Regions from separate parts of the Homo sapiens genome. Here regions 1 and 2 are each linked to region 3. Evidence: promoter capture Hi-C in human tissues and cell types (Jung and others, 2019). All regions are on one chromosome and are shown on one strand. The core of a region is centred on a gene start or on the middle of the fragment in contact, and the rest is flanking DNA. Distances in the headings are between cores, read along the strand shown.

The links. The method cuts DNA at HindIII sites, captures the fragments that hold promoters and counts their contacts. A contact is called where the count stands out against the background at its distance.
Region 1: a fragment that was not itself captured here is called in contact with the fragment with the promoter of SLC26A2 in region 3 in 1 of the 25 tissues and cell types used here (mesenchymal stem cells).
Region 2: a fragment that was not itself captured here is called in contact with the fragment with the promoter of SLC26A2 in region 3 in 1 of the 25 tissues and cell types used here (hippocampus).

Annotation. Positions count from the first base shown.
Region 1 is chr5:149,702,841-149,705,540 of GRCh38, forward strand. It overlaps LOC105378224 (a long non-coding RNA gene), which reads left to right and starts at 277. Exons shown (of 3, transcript XR_944405.3): 1 at 277-492; 2 at 1,105-1,221. The HindIII fragment of the contact is 5,156 bases long and covers 1-2,700 here.
Region 2 is chr5:149,522,654-149,525,353 of GRCh38, forward strand. It overlaps CSNK1A1 (casein kinase 1 alpha 1), which reads right to left. Exons shown (of 10, transcript NM_001892.6): 3 at 2,392-2,518. Among named protein-coding and RNA genes, the nearest start is that of CSNK1A1, 27 kb to the right of the region's middle. RefSeq lists an enhancer at 819-988. The HindIII fragment of the contact is 4,187 bases long and covers 1-2,700 here.
Region 3 is chr5:149,959,308-149,962,007 of GRCh38, forward strand. SLC26A2 (solute carrier family 26 member 2) reads left to right here and starts at 1,451. Exons shown (of 3, transcript NM_000112.4): 1 at 1,451-1,672. RefSeq lists enhancers at 1-470, 267-346 and a silencer at 1,387-1,506. The HindIII fragment of the contact is 6,337 bases long and covers 1-2,700 here.

The DNA of each region.
Region 1 (2,700 bases), core at 182-2,681, 260 kb before region 3:
CTGCCTAAGAGTTTGATAAGACATCTTGGCATCACAGCCGCCTGTTGGAATAACCCTGAGACCTCAGTTTCACTCTCTGTGAAACCTGGTCAAAGATCTTGCTCAAGGTGTGGCAAAGAGTAATCAATAACTAATGGCTGGGGCTGACTTTTGTTCTCCTGGTCATAAAAGACCTTTGAATTGCTTGGCCACTTTGGGTTTCTCAGGAAAAGTGATAACACTAAGCCAAAGTTCATCCCAGTTGGCCAGGCTGCCTCTCTCCAGCACCCACAAGGCTGGAGGGAGAGAGGGAATGACCACCGTCCCATGAGTGTTGGGCTGGGTTCACTGGGGTTAGGGTCACCAAGGGTAGGAGCCATTTCCCCATTGACCCACCTATGCATCACACCACAGAAATATCCCGGTGCTCTGTTTATCTCCCACCCCTCCCCCGACACAGCGGAAGGACGTAAGTTTTCACGCATAGTGGACAGAGGACTTAGACCGAATGAGGTGAGGCTTGGTCAGCCCTGATATGAGAAACACAGATCAAAACCAGACTTATCCCTCTGCTATCATCACCCAGCCACCCAACACCACTTCCCAGAATGACTCAATCGACATTTCCTGTACCCGAGCCTGGGATCTCCATTTTATTAAGCTTTCCGGAAGATGTTATCATCTAGCAAGTTTTTGAAGGAAGCATAGGACTATGCCTATCCCAGTGGTGTCTGCCCAGGTCTCCTCTGTGCTCAAACACCATGCAAGGCTTCCTCACTCCAGCCGGAAGCCTCAGCGCTTAGTGTGGTATTCTAGGCTTCAGTTCACCTGTACAGACCATCTCCCAGCTCTCCCTCACTCACTACCCACTGCAGCTACTCTGGGGTTCCTGGTGCTTGAATATGCTGTGGGCCTTTAGGAAGAGCAACCTTGCTCTTGTTATGCTGTTAACTTAATGAAATCCTCTCCAACATTTAAGGCCCAGCTCTGATGCTCCAACTCTAGAAGCCTCCCTTGATCCAGCCCTATCTAGAAGTGACCCCCTCAACTTTCCTCTGAGCTCCAATAGACTCTCCTCGTCTGGGCCCGCACGTAACTCTGGTCACTTTCCACCTTATTTTACAGATGTTGGTTGGCCTCATCTCCCCAAGCTGTCTAGAAGCTGCTTAAGGGCAGGCCCCACAACTGGTTGGTTCATCTCTATGTCCGCAGTGCAAAACGTCGCATCTCTTAAGGCAATTAGTAAGTGTGCTGTAATGAATTAATTCATGTCCACCATGACAAAGAGATACTGGTCCGAAACGTGAATTAAGTAGAGATAGCTTTATCTCTTCCTTTCCATTCTGGGTGCCTTTTATTTTATTTTCTTGCCTAATTGCCCCGGCAGGAAACTCAAGTACAATGTTGAATAGAAAAGGGGGGAATAGGTATCATCTTGTTCCTGGTCTTGGGGGAAGCACTTGGTCTTTCACCATTGAGTATGATTTAGTTGTGGGCTTTTTATAGATGCCCTCTACTAGGTTAAGGATATTCCCTTCTATTCCTATTTTGTTGAGTTTTATTATTATTATTATGAAGAAGTGTTGAATTTTGTCAAATGCTTTTTCCGCGTCTATTGAAATGATCATGTGGTTTTTGTCCTTTATTGTATTGACAAAGTGTATTACATTAATTGACATTTCAGATGTTAATCTTGCATTTCTGGGACATTTACCAGTTGGTCATGGTGTCTAATTCTTCTGATAAATTGCTGTGTTCTGCTTACTAGTATTTTGTTGAGATTTTTCTGTCTACATTCATAAATGAAATTGATCTGTGCTTTTTGTGTGATGTTTTGGTCTGATTTTTGTATCATAGTAATACTGGCTTCACAGGATAAGGTGGGAAGTGTTTCCTCCTCTTCTATTTTTTGGAAGTTTGTGAGGAATTCTTCAAAAATTTGGTAGAATGTACTAGTGAATTCTGGTCCTGGTCTTTTCTCTGTGGGTAGTTTTTTGATTACTAATTCCGTCTTTTTACTTGTTTCAAGTCATTCAGATGTTCTATTTCTTCCTGAAACAGTTTTACTACTTTATGGCTTTCCAGGAATTTGTCCATTTCATGTAAATTATCTAACTTGTTGGCATACAGTTGTTTATAGTAATCCTTTATAATCCATTTTATTTATATAAGGTCTGTAATAATCCCCCCTTTTTCATTCCTGATTTTAACAATTTGAATCTTCTCTCTTTTTTTCTTGATCCATCTAGATTAAGGTTTGTCAATTTTGTTAATCTTGTTGAATAACCAACTTTTAATTTCCTTGATTTTCTTGATATTTTTCTATCATCTATTTCATTAATTTTGGCTCTAAACTTTATTATTTCATTTCTTCTGCTTGTTCTAGGTTTAGTTTACTCTGCTTTTTTTCCAGTCTTAAGATTATTGATTAGAGATCTTTCTTCTTTTTTGTAATGTAGGTGTAAATTTCCCTCTAAGCACTGATTTGGCTGTATCCCAAGTGTTTTGATATATTTTGTCTTCATTTTTATTCATTGAAAAGATTTTCCTAATTTGCCTTGGAATTTTTTTTAATTCAATGATTCTTTAGGAGTGTGTTGTTTAATTTCCACATATTTGTGAATTTCCCAAATTTATTTCTGTCATTGATTTCTAATTTCACTCCATTGTTATTAGAGAACATACTATATATGATTTCAATCCTTTCAAATTTATTCAAAT
Region 2 (2,700 bases), core at 28-2,527, 440 kb before region 3:
TTGAACAACTTACACCTGTTACCTGTCAACCACAGAGCAAGACTTAGGTGTCAACTACCTTAAATGAAAGCTTTCTTGTATCTCCCTTCCTCAGAATTATATTTTTTCACATTTGTTACCCGTGTACCCAACAGAGACTTCTACAACTCTACAACAAGGATGGAACATCTTATTTTTCCATCTTTCTTTATTAGACTCTAAGTTTCTTTCTAGAGGGAAGAGACTAATTCTTATTTTTTTGCCACCCCAACCCCCAGCACTAAGTACAGTGGTAGGCTCTCAATACATGTTCAATGTATGGATGCTTACGTGTTACTGAACAAACAAAAACATAAGCCATAACTCTTTTATTAGGATTCACTCATATATGTTAGTTAAAACATATTAAAGGCTTTTTTTTTTTTTGAGACAGAGTCTCGTTCTATCCCCCAGGCTGGAGTGCAGTGGTGCGATCTCGGCTCACTGCAATCTCCACCTCCTGGGTTCATGTGATTCTCATGCCTCAGCCTCCCGGGTAGCTGGGATTACAGGTGTCAGCCACCACGCCTGGCTAATTTTTGTACTTTTAGTAGAGATGGGTTTCACTATGTTGGCCAGGCTGGTCTCGAACTCCTGACCTCAGGTGATTTACCGGCCTTGGCCTCTCAAAAGTGCTGGGACTGTAGGCATGAGCCACCAAACCCAGCCCACATTAAAGGCTGTTAACATAAAAGAGATGGGGTCTTTGCTCTATTGCTCAGGCTGGAGTGCAGTGGCATTATTATAGCTCACTGTAGCCTGGAACTCCTGGGCTCAAGAGATCCTCGTGTCTTGGTCTCCCAAAGTGCTGGATTACAGGCGTGAGCCAGTGTGCCGCGCCACTTTTAACCTTTTAATGCTTGAGTTTGTTTTGTGCCACAAATATCACAATTTGCTCACATTTGCTTGAGCCACTGAGTACTTTTAAGGTTAAGAAGCTTGGGGAGTATCAGGTGCTGATTACAGAAAATGGGCACTACTTTCTAATCCTTGGAATTATAGACAAAGTTTTTTCATTGATCTATAATAGTTGTATATATTTATGGGGTATGTGTGATATTTTGTTACATGTATACAATGTGTAATTATCAAATCAGGGTAGTTGGGATATCCATTACTTCAAACATTTATATTTTGTGTTAGGAACATTACAATTCTACTCTTCTAGCTATTTTGAAATAAACGATAAGCTATTGTTAACTATAATTTCCCTACTATACTATGTAATACTAGAACTTATTCCTCCTAACTGTATTTTTGTGCCCATTAACCTACTTCTCTTCATCCCTCTGAATTTACAAACTTACTAAAATTCCACCTCAAATACCATGTCTGTTTATCTCATTTTACTTTATGACATTTACTTGAAAGAAGCTCACAGTGATGCTTTGGGTAATACATAAATAATAGTATTAAAAGGTAAGTGATAAAGTAAATAAAGGTAAGTGATAAAACAAATAACCTGTGTTCTCCTTTCCCTTTTCCTCATTTTATTTTCTTCTGTTATTTTCCCTCTTCCTTTTTATGTGATAGGCAAATCTGGACTAGAGAGCTGTCACAAACCCTCCATTATATTTTTAAATGTCATTCTCTTCATAGTATTTTTATAAGCACACTGAGTTTAACTTAAAGCATTTCCAGCATTTTCCTGCCCTTAAAGGTAACAAATACTGATCAAAACAAAAAATTATACATGTCTTGATATTTACCAATCATTACCTTAATGTATTATCTTTTCCCTTAAGGTTTGTTCCTTACTCATCTTTCTCATTTCTTAAGATCGAAATATCCAAACTTTGGCTGTAAAAACCATTTAATCTAACCTACAGCCAATGCATCAATCTAATTCATGACATCACCAAAATTTCCTAGGTCTTAAGTAACACAAATGGTTGAGAATCCATTACTCCAAGCAGCATCTACTTGGTCAAAAAATTCTTCCTTATATTACTTCAGGACCTTTTTATCCTCAAAAATATAGCTTTTCTAAGAGTCCCACACATAATACATAATATTCAATTTTGCTTAATTTAACCAAAATGTCAATAAACATTTATCAACAATTATATGCATACATACACTCTAAACTCTCCAAACAAAATCTTACAATAACCTGCTACATATGACACTAAAACTTCATCTGAAGGAGCAGATTGAAAACTACTAGTCTACAGATGAGTAAGAAACCAAGATAATTCCAGGTTTTGTCTTATTCCCATAGGAAAATATCTACAAGTCACATTATTATTTTTTTTCTGCCTATGCTAAGGTTAAATAGTGATGCACAGGATTTTAATACTCTGATTTATGAATAATGAAATTCCAGTCAACAGTACTAGTCTCAGTTTATATTCTAATCAAAATTTCACATACCTGGTCAGCTAACATAAGTACAGTTTTCATTGTGAACCTTCTTGAACAGAAATTGAAGAGGTCTTCGAGGCTAGGTCCCAGAAGATCCATGACTAGTACATTGTAGTCTTTTTCCTGACCATACCACCTAACGAAACAAAAGGAGAAGAGAGGATATTACAAAAAGCTATTACTTAATATCATCAACCCTAAGAATAATATAGTTTTCTTTCACTGACTAGGTATTATATAAGGCGAATGTTCCCCTACTCAGAAGACAAACCCACTAATTAACTACAAGGCCCAAAGACAAAACAAGGGTAATGAGAC
Region 3 (2,700 bases), core at 201-2,700:
AGTTCTGCGCAGGCACGTGATAAACATCCAGAAACTGTTTATTCTGCTTGTTGTGCAGTCTTTAGGGCTTAAACAAAGTACTTTACACTGATTGCCTTACCTGACCCTCTCCAGGACTCTGGGTGCTAGGGCATTAACTACCCTTTGAAAGGTGAAAACATTGATGCCCATTGAGGTGAAATGATTTGTCTTCAGCCACAAGGGGCAGCATCAGGAGTAGAACCCAAGTGTTTGTGTTCTGATTCCCAAGACAGCTTATGACGTTTTGGAAACTCTGAATCTGATGGGTGACAGAAACTTGGGGATCATCTCTAGATAAGAAAGGGAGTTCCTTGAATGACTGTGAAGACGTTCACCGGAAAGGGAAGGAAAGGAAGTTAATCATGCTTCCTTCACAGGCCCTCCTTCACCCCCATCTAGTGGGCACATGCAAGCTACAAACAAGGTGAGGAATGAACAAATTAATACATACTCAATAGTGGCCAGTTCGAGGCAGATAATTAAATCAAGATGACCTGAAAGGATGTGACTGGCTGTGGCTAGTTTACACAGGGTGGTCAGGGACGGCCTCGCCATGGAGAGGGCTGGTGTTTTGGCTGAGACCTGAGAGACCAGAAGAAATCTGATGGCCAGAACCAATGTTTAGGTCCCTAAAGAGAACAAGCGTGGCGAGCAAAGGGGGCCAGTATGGGTGGAGATCAGCGAGGGAGGGGGGCAGAGATGAGTGCCCGAAGCACACAGTACCTTGGCATAGGGAGGGTTTGATTTTACCTACAAATGCCATTAAACCCACTAAGGATTTTAACAAAAACTACAATTACATTTTAATTTACATTTTATGTTTTATAGAGACAAGGTTCGGCTATACTGCCCAGGTTGATCTCGAACCCCTGGGTTCAAGCGATCCTCCCTACTCGGTCCCCCAAAGTGCTGGGATTACAAGCGTGAGCCGCTGCGCCCGGCCTTTTAATTTACATTTTAGCCTTCCGGTTACTGGAATCTTTGATGGGGAATGAGTTATAGTGAGGCAAGAGCCTCTAACATTCTAGGAGCTCTTTTCCCGTTCGGGGCCTCAATTTCCCGTTCTACAAAGGCGGGTGGGAGGGAACGGGGTCCCAAGTAGTACTGGATAAAGAGGTGGCCGATCGCAAACGCTGAGCACTTCAAAACTCTGGGCAGAGCGCTTCCGCGCCTCTCCTGCTATTTCACCCTGGCCACAGGCTAGCCGCCGAGGCCGGTCATCCGCTCTCTCCGCGGAGGAGTCAACGCCACGGAAGCAGCGGCGGAACCTCTCTAAGAATCCTTCCAGCTTGTGCTCTTCTGTCCAGGGCAGCCAATCGCGAGGAGGAGAGTAGTCAGAGGGCGGCACCCTCCCCGGTCTGGGCCGAGTTATTGGCTGGTGGTAGCGTCGCTCGCCCGGCAGTACCACGTGACGGCCTCGGCCGCGGGCGTTTACACTGGCTCTGCCTCCGGCATCTCTTCGCCGGTGCGTCCTCGCCGCGCCCGTAGGTCCCGGCAGCCGGGCCCCGCCTCCTTCGGAGTCCGAGCGATGGGCGGGGAAAGGGACAGGCAGGTATAGCTCTGTCGGCGCCGCGGTGTCCACCTCAGTCAGGCCACGGTGGAAGACGCGTGCCGCGGCGCCTGGTTGCCTGCAGCGGCCCGGACCCGAGAGGTGAGAAGAGGGAAGCGGACCAGGGAAGAGGGAGGGAGCGGTGCTGGCCGCCAAGCGGTCAGCGGGCCCCTCCCAGAGTCATTCTGCCTGGGTCCCCGCGCGGTAGAATCCCAGATCAGGGGTCGCCGCCGTGGAGCGGGGCGTGCGTCAGGTTATTTCCCGGGTGGTCCGGGGCCGGGCGAGTGGCACTGCACCCTGGTGATCCGGGCCTGCCCGTCTGGCTGGCGGCTGCCCACCCGCCCTCCATCCCGCGTATCTCGCCGTATCTCGCCGGGTGCCACGCACTCCGCTGCTTTTCCAGTCCTCGTTGATCCGTCTCGAACCTAGATATCTGGAATAGGGATCGAGGAGATAGGAGCCACCACCACCTCGGACAGATGGGGAAACTGAGGCCGGCACAGGCGAGACGGCTTGGTTATCTTGGTTATTAAAAATCACACACCCGATTAAGTACAAAATCAGGACCTGTTCTTTCGGACTCACACACTAAGTTGGTATTATTTCACTGGATGGATGGAAACACTGAGAAGACAGAGAGGGCCCAGAGCCTTGCCTAAAAATACACAGCAAGTCTTTTGCAGAGCTAGGACTTGTACCCAGCTCTCCAAACTCATAGACTATCAGCCTGGGCTCCTTCCTTGCACAGATTGGGGATCACAGTGAGTTAGAAACATTCAGAACTTAAATTGCCTTCCGGCGCCCATTCTAGTTAACCTGTCTTTTCTCCTTGTCCCCAACAGTTCTTTATGTGAAATCTACAACTAATGTGATATGCAATACTAGATTAAGCAGAACTTTTTGTTTTTGAAAATTGAATCAATAAGAAATGGAGGGCCAAAGCTGTGGGAAAGGAATGGACCCTTTAAAATCAGGAATCTCAAGGCAGGATATAGCAAGGGACAGAGACTAATAGCTGTCGTTTATTGAGTAAATGCTATGTGCCAGGCACTGTGGTAGGTAGTTGTGTTAGCCTTACAAACCAGCAAGTTAGGTAATGTTACCCCATTTTACAGGTCAGAAATTGATGC